Linked DNA regions of Homo sapiens: all the other regions are linked to region 1. Evidence: promoter capture Hi-C in 16 types of primary human blood cells and fetal thymus (Javierre and others, 2016). All regions are on one chromosome and are shown on one strand. The core of a region is centred on a gene start or on the middle of the fragment in contact, and the rest is flanking DNA. Distances in the headings are between cores, read along the strand shown. Region 1 holds the start of LIG3 (DNA ligase 3). Region 2 holds the start of SLFN12 (schlafen family member 12). Region 3 has its middle 44 kb from the start of TMEM132E-DT. Region 4 has its middle 22 kb from the start of TMEM132E-DT.

Region 1 (4,259 bases), core at 1,048-3,547:
GTTCAATTATCTAATGCACACATGTACATCTAGTACATCACAATGAAGAAAATCCAAATAACATAAAAGCTCTTTTTAGGCCATCAGCAACATATGATACTCATAATGGATGATGACCTTTAAGTATTACAAGATCCTGAACTTTCTTTTTTTTTTTTTTTGAGGCGGAGTTTCACTTTAATTGCCCAGGCTGGAGTACATTGGCGCGATCTTGGCTCACCGCAACCTCCTCCTCTCGGGTTCAAGCGATTCTCCTGCCTCAGCCTCCCTAGTAGCTGGGATTACAGGCATGCGCCACCACGCCCGGCTAACTTTTTTGTATTTTTAATGGAGACGGGGTTTCTTCTTGTTGGTCAGGCTAGTCTCCAACTCCCGACCTCAGGTGATTCGCCCGCCTCGGCCTCCCAAAGTGCTGGGATTACAGACATGAGCCACCGTGCCTGGCCCTGAAGTTTCGTTTTAATCACCAGTAAAAATTACATTATGTTCATGAAGTTTTTATTGTGAAGTTTAACACATATGCCATCCTCAGAAATCAAGCCACTATATAGATTTGGAATTGAGTTAGAATCCCTATATTGAGAGACAACTAAGCAGAGCCTGGAATCAGACTGCCTGAGTTCAAATCCTAACTCAGCCACTTACCAGCTGTATAACCTTGATGGGTTTCTTACCTCTGTTCCTGAGCTTCCTTATCTGTAAAATGTGGCTAATTATGGGGCCTAACTTAAAGAGCTGTTCTAAGAGTAAAACCCTTAAAACAGTTGGGCACACAGCAAGAGCTCTCATTAACGTCAGCTCCTATTATGATCGGTGACGTCGTTATCTTTCAAGAAGAGGCTTCCGATGTGCAATTAACCTGTTTATCATTCAGCAACTTGAATCAGAGAATGCTGAAGTCACTGGGCAGCAAGACTCACAGGAACTCATAAATCAATCCAAATGGAAAAAGATTATATCAGCATCTTCTTATATTCATGTTTTCTAAAGCATTTTATAGTCCTAGTTTTAAGTATACTGGAATTATGTTCAGTCTGCACACGCTGTGAAGCAAAATTGCTGTCACGTTATAATAAAAAGCAGGCTTTGCTTACTGTAGTGCAACATGATGTGAAGGAAAGCTGGTGGACCTGGAATAAGGGATGGGAGTGCAAGTCTGACTGTACAGTTTACTGACTGTTACCTCGGAGAAAACTCTTAATTTATCTGCATCTGTTTTCTTATTTCTAAAGCAGGGTAAATAATACCTACCTCACAGGGTAGTTGGGAAAATTACAAGGAATCCATGAATGCGCTGGTTGTGGGGGAGGGAGGCTGTTCTGAGCTCTCTAAAAATGTATACAAAATGTACATTCGATAAAAATGCACGGTTTTTTGGAGGAGGTCTATCACTTTCGTGATATTCACAAAGGGCTATATAACTCCCAAAGTTTAAGAACCACAGAGGTGAGGTAAGTGGAAGTACGGCAGACCCATAAAAGGAGGTCAGAACAAGTGAGTTTCAACACTTTTCCTAGAAGATCAATTTACAGAGCAACCTCTAGGGCCCCAATAATGAAAGGAGTGGACTTGAGGGAGGCTCGGGAGGCGCTGGGCCACGAGGAGGCACAATGCAGCTTTGAGGAAACCCGTCTGTCCCTCGTTCCGCACCCTCACAACTGCCGCAGCCCAGGGGCCCGAGAAGGAAATCGCTGAGGCCTGGCCGCCGCCGCTTTTCTCGAAGGGCTTCCCGCGCCGCTGTCGGAGAGTGGCGGGGACAGTGGGGTCGGCGGCGTAGGCCGCGACCCCCGGCGAGGCAGAAAGGAGCGCTCCTCCACCGGGTCCGGGACGCAGGCGGGAAGTGATCAAGGCTCCCTGAGTCCCACCCGAGCGCTCCCGGTTCAGCGCAGGAGGACGCACGCCGGGCCAGGGTACGAGAAGGCCCCGTGGGTTCCACAGGGAACACAGCCCGGGCGCCGGCCTCCCCGCCTCACGCGGCCCCGTGGGGGTCCCGGGGAGCCGCGAGCCTCCCCCTGGGCTCCCGGGAGGGCCGCCACGTCACGGAGGGTGTGCCCCGGGGCTCCGCAGGCGGGCGGGGGAGGAGCCGGGGGGCTGGCTCCCCGGCCGCGCCGAGCTCCTCGCCCCGGGCCCGCTGCCTTCCCCACGCCGGGCCCCGCCGCGCCGTGCCGCGCCGCGTAGCCCCTCACCTGCCTCTCCGGCTCCGGCGCTCACCGTAGGCCTCGGAACTTGCTCATTACAGGCCGCGGGCAGCCCACGACGGTTGGAGCGCCTGTCTCTTTAAATCCGGGTCCTAGAGCGGGAGGCAGCGCGCAGGCGCAAGAGCCAAGGCCGCGGCCACGCGACCGGTCCCCGCCCCCGTCTGCCACGTGGGTCGTAGTTGCATTCTGCCTGCCCTGTGATGTTTGGGAGTAGTTTTCAACCTGCAATCGCGGCCCGGGAAGCGGAGGTGGGGGGACGTGGCGGCTCCTCGGAACGCAGCCTGGCCTGAACTTCCGAGGCTCCCCTTGATTTTCTCATACTGTTAGAGAGGATCTGTTTTTAAAGATATTGGTGGAGAAACTATATTGTAATGAGGTCGGGGAAGGCAAAGATCGCGTCAATCTATTTTTTAAATATAATCCCTCTGTTTGTGTCCCGCAGACTCCCTAGTAAATAGTTTGTATTCAGTAGCTTTCATGGAATTGAGACGAGGCACTAAACAGCAGATAGATATAAAATGTAAAGGAGTGATGGAGGAGAAACTCCTTGATTGTATATCATTCAAAGTGTATTATCTCAAATCTGAAGCCAGCTCTTTGAGAGTTGGGATGGCGATTTTTACAAATGTAGCAGCCTGAGGGTAAGTGACCTCTTCAGAGTCTAGGAAGAGCAAACAACTGGGCCTTGTTAGGTAAGCAAAGAACAGGTTCCCGAGAGAATTCTGTGCTGTGTGATGAAGAGTGTCGTCTTTACTCTGTAGAGGACGGAGAGCCATGAAGAGTCTTAGGGAATACTGCTGAAGCTGGGTGGGGAGAGACTGAGGCAAGGGAACAAATCAGAAGGCTCTCATAGTGACCCATGTGGGAGATGATTCAGCTAGTTAGGGTGGAGAGTAAAGTGCGTTTTTGAAGATCATTTAGAATTTAAATGATCTTCTAGATAAAGTGCTCGTTTATGGATAAAATAATAATAATTTGAGTGAGCAGAAACATAATGGTACCATCAACTGAAATAGAAAATAGAGAGGAAGAGGAGGTGTTAGGGTTAGAAAGATGAGTTTTGTATTGGATACATTAAGTTTGTTTGACTAAGTTTAACTGCGATTCTACTGTTTGGAGGGGAGTAAAGCCTGCTTTTAATGCGCAGCAGAATGAACCAGGGCTTTGGTTCAACCAGGCAATTGGAAGGTCGCTGGAGACTCACGTCCTAGCTATGATAATTGAGTGATCTTGAGCACGTCTCTACAACTACATTTGCTACATTTTTTTAAGTTTCCTCAACCGTATCTGTCTTTTTCCAATGCTGTAATCACTAGCCACACGTGACTATTGAGCACTTGAATGTTGCATGGAATTGAGATGTGCTATAAGTGAAGAAAATACACACCAAAAAATTCATACTAAAAAAAGTAAAATATCTCATTAATAATATGTACCACATAATGACATTTAGGCCAACAATGGACCAAATATATGAGGGTGGTCCCATAAGATTATAATGGAGCTGAAAAATCCCTATCATATAGTGACAGCACATTACTCATGTGTTTGTGGAGATGCTGGTGGAAACGAACCTACTCCATTGCCAGTTGTATAAAAGCATAGCACACACTATTATGTACAGTATATAAAACTTTATAATGATAATAAAGGACGATGTTGCTGGTTTATATATTTAGTATACTATACCTTTTATTGTCATTAAATTAAATTAATTAATTTAGTTATTTTTGAGACAGAGTCTCGCTGTGTCGCCCAGGCTGGAGTGCAGTGCCACGATCTTGGCTCACTGCAACCTCTGCCTCCCAGGTTCAAGTGATTCTCCTGCCTCAGCCTCCCAAGTAGCTGGGATTACAGGCCCTTGCCACCACAATGGGCTAATAATTTTTTTTTTTTTTTTTTGCGACAGAGTTTTGTTCTTGTCGCCCAGGCTGGAGTGCAGTGGCAGGATTTTGGCTCACTGCAACCTCTGCCTCCTAGGTTCAAGCAATTCTCCTCCCTCAGCCTCCTGAGTAGCTGGAATTACAGGCACCCGCCACCACGCCTGGCTAATTTTTGTAT
Region 2 (4,259 bases), core at 210-2,709, 450 kb before region 1:
GCTGGCGTCTGGATCAGATGAGAAGAAGAAAAGCGCAGCTATGTGCTTTCAATATATACGTTATTTAATGTGAATAGGTACTCTTCCTAGGTACCTTAAGATTTTAGAATAGGCAGTAGGCAGTTAATGCAGTCCAGAGTGGGGTAGGTGGAGCTTGCGGAGAAGGAGCAACTCAGACTTGCACATTCCCCTGTGATGAGTCATCGTGGCCTGTGTGCATTTCAAAAGCTATGTACTGAGACACCAATTCTTAGACAAGTTAGCAGGAAAAACATGTATTACCATAATTATCATAATAAGGGGGCTAAAGGAAAGCAAAGTGGCAGGAGGACTGTATCCGGCCAGACTAGCCTTTGGAGCATCCCAATAAAGGAATCTCCCAAATGGCCCCAAGATGCTCCCTACACTGCCAGGGGTAGGTATTTGAATCTGTCTGTCCTGGAGCAATCCGCTCCTTGCACCTTTGTCCTCTCCTGTCCATCCACAGCTGCCCTGGCCTGGTTCCTGGGGGCAACCGTGCTTTTAAGCAAGGGGGCAGCAGTGCTGCTCTGGGAATGCGAGTACAGCTGGAAAGGTTGAGTCACCCCTTTAGGGGCATGGTAAGAATGCCTGGTATTTCTTCAATTTTGATGAACCAAAATAGTGACAATTGCCCAAAGGCGCAGAGTCGATAATAAAGAGTGCGGACACTTCCGGAGCGCCAGCTGCCCAATAGAAATGCAGGCCACGCTGGGGAAGTGTGGAGCCGCAGCCCAGGATGGGGAGGGCCGGAAAACAGAAAAGGATTCGCGTTCTTTTTACTCTGTGGAGAGTGAGCCCGCGGACTGTAGCCTGGGCCTCGCCAAGTTCCTTTGTTCTTTGTTTTCTTTAAATTACCTTTTTTCTTTTTGTCTTAAAAAATACACATGGGTGAAAAAGAAACGAGAGCTCCCTAGAGATCACTCAGAGCTGTTTTCGTGGGTTTTTAACTTCCAGTTGCTCAAGGGTCCACGCTGGCATCTGGGGTGTGCTCGCACCTGCGAAGAATCCAGCTTCTAGGGAGCACCGCGAGCTGGTAAGTTGGTCCTGCTCCATCGCTAAACCTTCCAGCCTTAGTTTTTCATTTCTGGGGAGTCTGCTGGCTCGGGAGGAGGTGGGGCACTGGTAACACAACCCCACCACTCCCGGGAAGATCCCCGCACCCCCATCCCGGTCTGCTTTCTCTCCCTTCTGAAGCAGGAGAATAAGGGTCTGGAGGAAAATCCCAACTTTCCACAAACTTCCTTTGTAGCCCCTCCTTTTCTACATGGCAGATGAAAAACTGAAAATACCTCTGATTGGTCCCCTCCCGCAACCAATCAGACTGGTCTCCAGGGCCAAGTCTTCATGTGCATAGGAATGTAACTTTGTAACTTCGCTTTCTGCGTCCAATCAGATGTTTTCATAGGGCATAACTTTGTAACTTCACTTCAGCCTCCCATTGATCGCTTTCTGCAACCATTCAGACTGATCTCGGGCTCCTATTTCATTTACATTGTGTGCACACCAAGTAACCAGTGGGAAAACTTTAGAGGGTACTTAAACCCCAGAAAATTCTGAAACCGGGCTCTTGAGCCGCTATCCTCGGGCCTGCTCCCACCCTGTGGAGTGCACTTTCGTTTTCAATAAATCTCTGCTTTTGTTGCTTCATTCTTTCCTTGCTTTGTTTGTGTGTTTGTCCAGTTCTTTGTTCAACACGCCAAGAACCTGGACACTCTTCACTGGTAACATATTTTGGCAAGCCAACCAGGAGGTAAGCCCAAAGTCTGGGATTTATTTTTCTCCTTTCCCTTTTCCTTTCTGCTCCATACAGGTAAATCTCTCTCTTTCTCTTTTCCTTTCCAACGTGGGATCCTTGGTGGGTAGCGCCTAGACACGGAGGCGACTGCAGGTTTCTGGCCGGGGGCTACTCTCCAGTGCTGCCTTGAAGGCCAAGGAGTGAATGGGGATAGTTGCCCTGCCCAGAAGCGGGAAGGGCTCTTTTCTGTCTTTTCTGGTTGTGGTCCCTGATCCCTATGTGTGACGCAGCTTCTCCAGGGCGAACTCACACGTGTTTCAGGTGACTTAAACCTTCTTTCCTTATGTTAAATTCTTCCCTTCCCCTACTCTACTGGCTAAGGTTAAAAGAAACCCACCTAGCCTCCATTTCATATCATTAAAGTTCATGACTATCACTCTAGTGGAATGGGAACCATGGGAAAGCATGGCCTTATCAAATTATAAGGATGCTAGAAGTCAAGGCCTTCATCCAGAGACAAAAGGAAAGCTCACAGTAGGCCATCCCCTCTGGAGGGAAAACATGTAAAGTGGCACTGGTGACCACCTAAGGTCAGAGACGTCTGACGCTCTAAGATTGGACCCTAAAGGGGGATGCTCTGGAGGATCCTTTGGACCTCAGCCTCTCCAAGGGGGTTCCTTTGGTAGAGGTTCTTAGGCCTAGTACTAAGCCCTCCTTAGAATTTTCTCTTCCGGTTGCAGTAGTGTTTGGCCTCAATATTGTTTGGAATCTGGAGTTTGCTGTTGAATGGTAAAGTGGGATGGAGTTGCATGTATGCAGGCTCTTGTGCTGCTGTTCTAAGCAGGGTTGTGTCGGGTTAAAGTGTGATGTTCTCCTTTGGTGCTGTTTGGCCTCAGCGTTCTTTGAAGTGCGAGGAAGTTTGACCTTTAAAAATCAAACTGCCATGGAAACCGCTGACTTATAAATTGCTAAAGTTGTTTATAACCAATGTTTGGTTTCTCAAATCCATATTCCTGGGAAGACAATCAAAGCTTCAGGTACATTTGGCTACCCGATGGGCCATTTAAACATTTACAAAGGGATTTTATTCAATGTCACTTTCAATGCATGTTTTCTTGTTGTATAAAAGCTTTTCCCATGATTATGCTACAGTGTATTTTCACCAGGTAAAGAAAGCTTTTTATGGTTCACTGAGAACAATCAACCCCTTCACAACCTAGAACCCATAGGATAGATGTTCTCAGAACATCTACTGTAAAGGCCATAGTTACACAACAGACTTTAAATTCTTTTGTGAAAGTTATGATAGAATTGGCTGAACAGAGAAGTATCTGTGCAGCTGCTGGCACTTAGAGTCTATGGAGAAATACATTAAATGAAGATTAAGAGATTCAGTTGTAGGGGATTAATGAGGAGATTGTTTACTTAAGTTGGTAGATTCTTTATTTAGTTCATTATTTGATCTATTTAATTTTAACTGGTTTGGTTTATGGGAACCCTGGGCAAGGAGCATCCTCCAAACTCTTGGTATTATCCTCCCAATAGTCATCATAATAATAGGCTCCCTGGTGCACTGTATTCTCTCAAAGGTTTTCGATGTTTGCATGCAGCCATCTCTAGAATGTCAAATGGTCTCTCTTCAACTGGAATGATGAGAAGTGAAACAAATATGCGACCATGAGGACACTGTAACCTATGGATGGTGTGCTGAGACTGGAAACCCAAAATGATGGTAACTGAGAGCGGCGCTAAGGCCTTACGTTTTGGTTACATTCTCACCTAAGTGAGAACCTGAACAAAAAGGGGGAATTTTAAAAAACAAAATTGTGAAAGGCCAGTGTTTTGGACTGAGCTCATGGCCCCAACAGACCAAACCAAACCAAAATGGAGTTGCTCATTCTAAGACTTTAAGGAAACACATAGATCCTAGAACAGACCAAGTTTTTGTTTTTCTCCTGCAAACAGAATGTTTCAGTGAGCAGGACACCCTCCACCGGTAACACTTTCCTGTCTCTGTAGCAACTTCTAATAAACTGCAGGCTGTTGAGGACTTCAGAATGGTGGACTTGGAAGCTATAGGTCGGGTGGAACTTTTGCTCCTGCATGGGCTGGGGAGCAGCCCAGAAAATTTAAAGCATTACCAGAAAATTTAAAGAGCTGTGGGGCCAGTGAGCCAGGGATCTGCAGTGTTCAAGCAGAGCTAGAGAGGCAGGGAGGGCAGAGTGCTCTATGGTCAGGCCAGGCTTGGTGGGTGTCCAGACCTCCCAGGGTTATCCATCCTCCTGGAGTCCTGAACATGCAGGGAGTTGGGGAATAGGTTCTTTAGGTGAAATGCGACCAGGCACTGATGAACTGCATTGCTAGATCCTAAAAGAAAAACCAAGCACCCTCATGCCCTGCTGGTTTATTATCTAGAAGGCGGGAAGGATGAGAGCAGTGCTGTCCTGAACTAAATGCAAAGTGACATCCTAGGAGGGCAAAGAGTGTTGCATGATTTTTGTTT
Region 3 (4,259 bases), core at 730-3,229, 450 kb after region 1:
AGACCCCACATGCTATATTGCCCATTGAAGCTTGGAAATAAAGTTGGCTGCCTGCTAGGCTGTCATTTTGTCAGCATGGAACCAGAGGACATGGTCACCAGCTGCCAGAACACCCAGGATAGACCCCTCTGCTGAATTGTGGCTGCTGCTGAACCCAGGCAATGCCTAACCCTGTTGGAACATCTCCTGCCATCCCTGCCTGGTGGGAGACAGTCCTTCTGTGCGAGTCTTGAAAGCTTATTCAGGTGCTGTCACTGAATGACAGGTGCACAAGCTTGTTAGCCTTGTAATGAATATCCCAGCCTCCTCTGGTGGGAGCCAGCCTGCCTAAGGATGATGGGGAATGGAGAGAGGCAGAGGAACCTCCTTCAAAAGGCTTCAGTCATTGTCAGAAAGTTTAAGAGAACACACCTGTGCTGGCGGCTAGCATGCAGATGCCAGCTGGCTGTTGGGTTGTCACTAAGGAGAGGGAATGAGAGAAAAGAACATGGGATTTGGATTCAGAGTTTGAATCTCAGCTCAGCCACTTTCTAGCTTTGTGACTTTTGGCAACTTACTTGACCTCCTTGAGCCTCAGGTTCTTTATCTGTAGAATGGGGTGCTAACACCTATCTTAGAACCCTGTTGGGAGGATTAGGGAAATCCCATGGGTAGTGCCTGGCAGATCCTGGGCATTCAGTAGGTAAAAGGTGTGGTTATAAGGAGGCCTAAATGCCAATGAGCCAGGTGCTGGGAGACTCTGTGGTTCTTGTTGAGAAGATGGAAAACCACACACAGGAGCGCTGTTATGTTTGTCTATTCAAGATTCCCCATCTTGGGGGAAACAACTCCCCATCTTTGGGGAATTTCCTGTCTCCCATTCCATGCAGTACTAGTGGAATTTCCAACCTCAGCATTTCAAACTCAGGGTGGGCATATGGCCCAAGCTCGACCTGGAATTTTATATCAGACACTTGGGCAAAAAACTCTTTCCTTGTGCTTGAGATTACTAAGCTGGATTTATTTAAGCCTAGAAATATCTAGGGCACAACACCTACCCCTACCCTTCTGTCCGACCTACACAACCCCATGGAGAAGCCTGTCTCCAGCAGGAAAGGGCCACAGACCTTTATATAAGAAAGAGGGCACTTAAGTGGTGGTATCATTTCAGATGTGTCCCCCTCCCCCCTCCCAGACTTCTTTATTAAATGAGCCAAGTGAGTCCTATTTTAGCTTCAGCTTTCTCAAGTTGGGTTTTTATAACTTTCAACCATAAGAAACCTAGCTACTACAAAGGAGGTATTCTAAGAGACTTGGGGCAAACTATAGAGGGCATCGTGCTAAAGGTGTTGGGGTCAAAAGTCAGGAAAGGCTGTCTTAGAGTGAATTTCCCCTGCCATGGTTCTCTTGCTTGTATTTATTTCTTGCATCTTTCATGTCCTTTTATCTTAGAGTATTTTACAGACTCCCATTGTGCTTGAGGGAGGCTTAGATAGTCAGGGCTGGAATTCTATACCTAGAGTTTTGTTCTAGCTTTGCTCGGTGGGCCTTATCTATAGACACTGGGTGCTGGGCAGGATGTACATGATCTGAGTTGTAACCCTAATGCCAAGAAGACAGCATATTCTTGACTTGGATGTGAGTTCCCAAGTGCCTCTGGGACAGTGCAGATGTACAAGATGCCAGAAGAATGAGCAATAGTGATAAAGTGAGGTTAAGCCAAAAGTTGGCCCTCCCAATTATGTTTGGGGGATGAGCAAGTGAGGTCCTGCTGGGGGCTCCTAGCATGCCCTCCCTTGATGCATGGGGTTAATTTGACTAAAGAAACTTTCTCTATGCAACTGTGATATAAATTGGGAAAAGGAACTCTGCCCTAGATTTAGAATTAGGTGAGCAGGTAGCCTTAGGTTATGTGTTGAGAAGAGTTAAAAGTGTTAAGAACACTGACATATTATAATCATAAAGCAAGGGAAAGAGGAAACTATTATTTCTTTGACTACATGTCACACACCATACTAGGTACTTCATAAACATCATCTCAGTGAAACCTCCTAAGAACAACTCTGTGCCTCATGCACTGCTGGTGGAAATGTAAAATGGCTAAGATGCTTCTGAAAACAGCCTGGCAGTTCCTTAGCTGGTTAAACATAGTTACCATATGACCCAGCAATTCCACTCCCAGGTTCGTGCCCAAGATAAATAAAGACACATGTCCACACAAAGACTTGTGTACAAATGTTCATACAATGTTATTCGTGATAGCCAAAAGGTGGAAACAACCCAAATAGCCATTGACTGATGAGTGGATGAATAAAATGTGGTACTGTCTATCTACAAAATGGCAAAAAAACAAATGAAGTACCTCTACTTGTTACAACATGAGTGAACCTTGAAAACCTTATTCTAAGTGAAAGAAGCCAGTCACAAAAAAGATCACATATTATATGGTACCCTTTACAGGAAAGTCCAGAGAAGGCAAATCTATAGAGACAGGAAGTAGATTAGTAGTTGACAGGGGCTGGGATTAGGGAGGGGATGGGGAAGCTGGGAATTGATGGCTAAAGGGAGGTGAGACTTTTTAGGGGGATAATGAAAATATTTAAAATCATTGGTGGTGAAGAATGCACAACTCTGTGAATGTGTCAAAAGCCACTGATCCATACATATTAAGTGGGTGAATTGTGTCGTTTGTGGATTATATATCAATAAGGCTGCTAAAATTGAAAGTTTCTTAGAGAAGTGAGAGATGGCAGCTCTTTTTCAAAAGTCTTGAATAATGATTTGACCTTTAAACTATAAGCATGTATAACACAGAAGAAAACAAAAATTAAATTAGAAATCACACACTAATTCTGGAAAAAAAAAAAAAAAAAAAAGGAGGAATAGTCCTGTAATGTATTACTGTTTCTGTTTTACAGAGAAGAAGCCAAGATTCAGAGAGGGCTAAATGATTCACTCAAGGTCAGGTTGCTAATAAACAGAGGAGCCAGAATTGGAACTTAGGTCAGTTTGAGTCCTAATGTTTAACCATTTCTAGGCATAAGAAGGATCAGATGTTCCTTGGAAAATCAGCCTCTTTGGGGGATTGTGCATGGGCCACGGACAAATGAGGGTGATCTCATCCAGCCAGCCAAGGCAGTCCAATTAGCCCTAGTGATCTGTGGAGTGGCGGGCACCCTTTCACCCATCCGCGTACTGTAAGAAATGCCTCGGGTCTGGATGCAAGACTCCATGCTTCCAAGTTTGTGTAGGAAGGAGGGGCTGGCAGGAGAGCAGCGGACAAGGATCTCAGCTCCACCTCTTCTCAAAGATTCCCATTCCAATTTCTGCCGCTGGCCCTAGGGGGATGCTGGCCCTTCAGTGTCACTCTGGCCCCACCATGGACAAACAACTCTTCTCTTTATACCCTATAACAGGGCCAAGTAGAGACCAGATGATCTTTAGTAAAGGCTGTGGCGAGTCTTGACTCTAGACGGTGGAAAGCAGGGTGGAGAGCAAGTCACTTTGTGGTTTTGAACCTCAGTTTTCTCATCTGTACAAGGGAGATAAGAATGCCCAGATTGTAAGAGCATGAAGATTTAATACTCAGGCAAAGCGCTGGTATGCGGGTGAGCACCCGATGCCTTTGTGTCCTTATGCCTGTGCGAAATCCTGGGGATAAGAGGTAGCAGTCAGGGCATTTCCACATTTGAATCCCTAAGCTTGTCCTCTTCATGTGTCTAAACTCACTTTGGAGGAGTAGCTCCTGTGAATTATTTCCTAGAAATGGCTTGGGAACCATCTTGCCTGGGGTTGAGTGTGATCCCTCAGGAGCTGGCTCCTGCCACTAAGTACTTGCCAGCTGCTGCTTTTAAGTGTGGCACTCTGAATGGCTGCATCGTCCCCACCTTGGGACCGTGAGGTCCTGTGGGTGGGATGGGGGTTTGATCGCCAGTCCTTTCCTATCAGTCAGCATGGTGCCTGACTTGCAGTGGGCGCTCAAGATATAGATTCAAGGAAGGAAGTAGAATGTCAAAGCTGAAAGAAACCTCAGAGGACATCCAATCCAGTAATTCTCAAGTTATTTTTAACCTCAAAACCCTTTCTTCAAAGGAAAACTTTATGCAGAGGCCCAGTCTATATATAGATACAAGCTGAGTTGTTCTGACAGTGGTGGGTGGGGGCAGGCCTCTCCCAGCTTCGACTTCCCTCTTTCCATCCACTTTGGTAGATTCCTTACAACTGCAGGGAGCAGAGGTTGAACCTCACTGATCACATCTCAAATGCTCATTTTACAGATG
Region 4 (4,259 bases), core at 1,227-3,726, 420 kb after region 1:
CATGACTTATTATTGCTCCTGAAGTACACTGGCCATGTGTGCTTATTGATATGCTTGAGGCCCTGGGGTTCTCACTGTCCCAGATCACAAAGGGTTTCAATTTGTGGCCTGCAACATTGTCCCCAAGCAAGATTGTCATCCTGTCCTTAAAAGTCTTGAAATCTGGCATTGACTTGACCTTCTTTAGGATTAAAGTCCTTTCAGGCATCCATTTCCAGAATAGGCAGCTTTCATCCATATTGAAGATTTGCTCTGGCAAGTAATTTTCCTCCACGATCAGATTGCCAGAGTTTTCAAAAATTCTTCAGCTGCCATCACATCAGCACTTGAAAACTCACCACTCACTTTCACAGAATGTAATAAATAATGATTCTTGAATCATTTAATCCACCCGGGGCTAACAGTAAATTCAACATCATAGTTGGGTCCAGCATCTTCTTTCAACATCACGAAATTTTTGCTTTGGCAGTGATCATCACGGTGCTGGGAGGGATAGGCTTCTGTGTCTAGTCTTCAAATCAAGTCATTAGAAATTTCTGTCTATCTGATATGGGCCCTTTTAGAACTTTTGTTAGTATCATTGCCTTCAATGAAGCAGATCCTTTAGCAGCTTCTGTCACTTTGATCTTGTTCTTCAAGATTGTAGCTATGGTGGAATGACACATGCCTGACTGATGAGCAGTAACCATCACTGATTCTCCACCTTCATAGTCCTTAATCACTTTTAATTTTGTTTCCAGGACAATCACTTGATGTGGCCTCTTACTGGCAACATTAGCAGTGGATTTTGTTCACTTTGGGGCTATGATGAACAAAACATTGTGAGGTTAAATCAAGCACAAGAGAAAACAGTGCAATCAAGAAGTGCAGTAAACGAGATATATGAGGCTGCTGCTGGAGTAACACAGCATACTGTTTTACAGTAAACATTTTTTTTAATAAGTAGAAGGTGTACACTCTAACGATAAAAAGCATGGTATAGTAAATAGATAAACCATCAACACAGTCCTTTATTATCATTATCAAATATTATGTACTATACATAATTGTACATGCTAGACTATTATACAATTGGTAGTCCTGTAGGTTTGTTTATAGCAGCATCACTACAAACATGTGAGTAATGGGCTGTGCTACAACATTACATCACTAGGCGATAGGAAATTTTCAGCTCCATTATAATCTTATGGGACCACCCTTGAATATGCAGGCTGTTGTTGATTGAAACAGCATTACGTGGAGGATGACTGTATTTGATTCCTGTTTGAGATCTGGCAGGCTTTCTGTGCATGTACTGGCTCACCTGTAATATTGTTTAATGTGTGATTCTTGGTCTCTGTGTGTTTCAGTGTAAGTCATACAGACATTTGTGGGTGTGATGCCATGTGGACCAAGTGTGTGAGTTACCATGTGAGATGTATAGGCCACTGTGGATGTATTTGTAATGATATGTGAGCTATGTGGTCTGATTGGGTATGTGATACAGTGTGGCTGGTGCGTTTGTGTGTGTGTGTGTGTGTGTGTGTGTGTGTGTGTGTGTGTGTGTGTGTGTGTATGAGAGAGAGAGAGAGAGACAGAGAGAGATCTGGCATGCAGTGTGCTATCTGCACTGTCTGGCTGTGAGTCTGTGGTGTGTATCTGGGTGCTGTGAGTGTGTGTTCACTTGTGCATCTCTGTAGGAACCAGTGAGCTGTGCATATGTGTGTGCGTGCATGTATGTATGTTTGTGTGTCTAGTCATGTCCCTGTACACAGGGTATTGTTGTGTGCAAGCATGTGTATCAGTAGGCAGAGGGCTCTGTGTCTCTAAGAGCCAGAAGGCCGGTGCAGTGTGGGTTGAGGGAGCTGTGAGTTAGAGGGTTTAAACAGGCTTCTTGGCTGGCCTGGGTCCAGCTCTCCCCTCCCAGCTTCTGCAAATACTGCCTAGCAGATGCACTGAGTTTTTATACACATGGAAACAGCCCTTTAAATATTTACCCTCCAGCCTGGTGGAATGTCCTGCTTCTCTTGCCTGCCCTCCCTCCACAGGCACTCAGCTCTCCTGCTGCTCCCTGGGGCTTAGCTTGGTAGGTCTCTGCTGCCCCTGGGACTCACTCTGGATTCCAGGAGTCAGTGAGGAGGGAAACCCTAGGAAGGCTGAAGCCAACACAGCTCTCACTCTGGGTTGCATTCCTTAGCATGGCCTTCATAGCTGCCTTCAGATCCACTCAACTCCCTTACACAGTCACGGCATTTACATTTCATTTACTTCACTTTTACACGCAGATATGCCCAAGTCAGCCTCACCACTTGACACTCACTTCCACCTCCTTTCACAGGTCCAGCCCTTCACACCTCTCCAGGCTCCTCCTCTTCTTCCCTTGCCAGTCTTAGGAGCTTCTTCCCCTACTCCCCTGACCCATCCAAGACACTGTGAGCTGCCCTCCTTCCTTAAGGGCCAGGAGATCCCAGCCACGAAACTCTGTCCATGGTTCTGAACCGTCATACCTGGCAGATGCTTCGCTCCTTAACCTTGGGACATTGGTGGTAACTCTTATCCAAAAGTTCCCAGGAATTCTGAACTGGGTGAAGAGTTAGTGGTAGGTGAAATAAGATCATGTGCATATGTGTGTGTGTGTGCTCACACTGTCTCTGAGGGATAAAATAGAGACAAAAAGATAAAGGGAGACAAAAAGGAACAGACAGAGACAGGCACAGAGCCATAGAGAGAGATAGAGGAGAGAGACAGAGACTGTGAGACAGGCAGGCAGGGAGACAGATAGGAGAAGCCACTGGAATGTCAAAAGTGCTGACAAGTAATCCTACTTACAAAGAAGGCATCTTATTTTCCTCTGGGAAGCTGGAGGAGTACATGACCCCTGATTCTACATGCTGCAACAACAGCTCAGGTGGTGCAACTCCCTGCCAAGGTTTATACTCATTTAAAAGAAGAGTCTAGTAGTGTAATCTTGTGCCTGGATTTAGGATCCAGGGTGGGGCCTCAGTGCCCACCCTAGTCCAGGGCTGGCATCCTGGCAGGCCACTGTCTTTTGTCTTCCGGTACCATCCAGGCCTGCTAATCCCTCACCTCCCCCACCTGCCCAGGCTGAACAAAATTTTTAAGGTCAGATATCATCTGGAGGAAACAGCTGGACAAAGGTGGACTCTGCTTGCTGCCCAACCATGCTTGACATCAAGGTATGGGAGACAGGAGGGTGGGGACATTGTCCTCTTGGCTCAGGTTTCCTCCCCCTTTCAACCGTGCTGGCTTCTCCCACCCACATAGGTGGCTCCATGGATTACTTTCCTCTTGTGTCATTTCCCAGGCACCATTTAACTGCTGGACATTCTGCTAGGCACAGAAGTCACAACAGCCACCTCAGGAGCTTCACAGTCACCTTGGGAGATGGCTGTAATTTACATTTTACAGATAAGGCAGCTGAGGAACAGAGAAGTTAAGTAACTTGCCCAGGGTCCCACAGCTGCTAAGTTGCCGAGCCAGATTCAAATGCAGATAGTCTGGCATCCTCTCTGAATGGGACTCCTCCAAGGCTGATGTGTAGCATCATCCACTGGCAGCTCTCAAGGGTGGCACTATGTGGTTGTGGAGGCAGCACAGGCTTCCAAGTCAGAAGCCCTGGAAGTGGTGGCCCTTGGGGTTTCCACATTTTCTGGGAGGATTCAGTTGGGGCCTTCTTAGCCTGGCAGCCCCTCCTTATGTCCCAGGCAGGGGTACCCAGGATGTCAGGGGAAGGAGGTGGCAGCAAAAGCCCAGCCCGGATGGGCTGGTGGGTTCAGCCGACCATGAAATACCACGGCCTCCAGCTGCAGGTACCCCTGCCTACAGTGGCAGAGCCCGCCTGGCAGGGCAGGAGCCCAGCTAATGGCCATGTTTATAGCTCAAAGCATTATTAGCTCTTAGGAGTGCTCAGCCCTCGCTTGTTGTTGACAGCTGAGCTTATTGATTGAGTGACTTGATGTTTTTGTTTATTAAGTGCCCGGAGTGTCAGCAGATTTGGACCAGCCTTGGCTAGGTTGGGGAGGGAATGTATGAATAGGGGAGGCTGATGAACACATCCCAGCCTTGCTCATTTGTTCGGGCACATGTGTTGGGGTGATGGGTGTGTGTGTGTGTGCTTCTTGACCGTCGTGTTTCTGAATGCAATTTTAGAAGAACGAACCTTGGTTTCTGCACTCAGCAACCATGGAACAGCTTTTGGGGGGAACTGGGATTTGGATTTGGGAGGCCTGGCTTTGAATTTTGGTCTTATCTTTTCAAGC

What was found. The method cuts DNA at HindIII sites, captures the fragments that hold promoters and counts their contacts. A CHiCAGO score of 5 or more calls a contact.
Region 2: the fragment with the promoter of SLFN12 here is called in contact with the fragment with the promoter of LIG3 in region 1 in 12 of 17 cell types (non-activated CD4 T cells, fetal thymus, total CD4 T cells and 9 more); the score reaches 12.7 in non-activated CD4 T cells.
Region 3: a fragment that was not itself captured here is called in contact with the fragment with the promoter of LIG3 in region 1 in 2 of 17 cell types (M0 macrophages and M1 macrophages); the score reaches 7.2 in M0 macrophages.
Region 4: a fragment that was not itself captured here is called in contact with the fragment with the promoter of LIG3 in region 1 in 1 of 17 cell types (M0 macrophages); the score reaches 5.5 in M0 macrophages.

Annotation. Positions count from the first base shown.
Region 1 is chr17:34,978,550-34,982,808 of GRCh38, reverse strand. LIG3 (DNA ligase 3) reads right to left here and starts at 2,297. Exons shown (of 20, transcript NM_013975.4): 1 at 2,187-2,297. RefSeq lists a silencer at 1,843-2,272. The HindIII fragment of the contact is 8,847 bases long and covers 1-4,259 here.
Region 2 is chr17:35,429,700-35,433,958 of GRCh38, reverse strand. It overlaps SLFN12 (schlafen family member 12), which reads left to right and starts at 1,459. Exons shown (of 4, transcript NM_018042.5): 1 at 1,459-1,771. RefSeq lists enhancers at 1-97, 48-287, 1,108-1,327, 256-1,455, 824-1,549. The HindIII fragment of the contact is 4,520 bases long and covers 1-2,789 here.
Region 3 is chr17:34,532,742-34,537,000 of GRCh38, reverse strand. No RefSeq gene overlaps it. Among named protein-coding and RNA genes, the nearest start is that of TMEM132E-DT, 44 kb to the left of the region's middle. The HindIII fragment of the contact is 3,406 bases long and covers 277-3,682 here.
Region 4 is chr17:34,554,779-34,559,037 of GRCh38, reverse strand. No RefSeq gene overlaps it. Among named protein-coding and RNA genes, the nearest start is that of TMEM132E-DT, 22 kb to the left of the region's middle. RefSeq lists a silencer at 2,341-2,541. The HindIII fragment of the contact is 5,781 bases long and covers 1-4,259 here.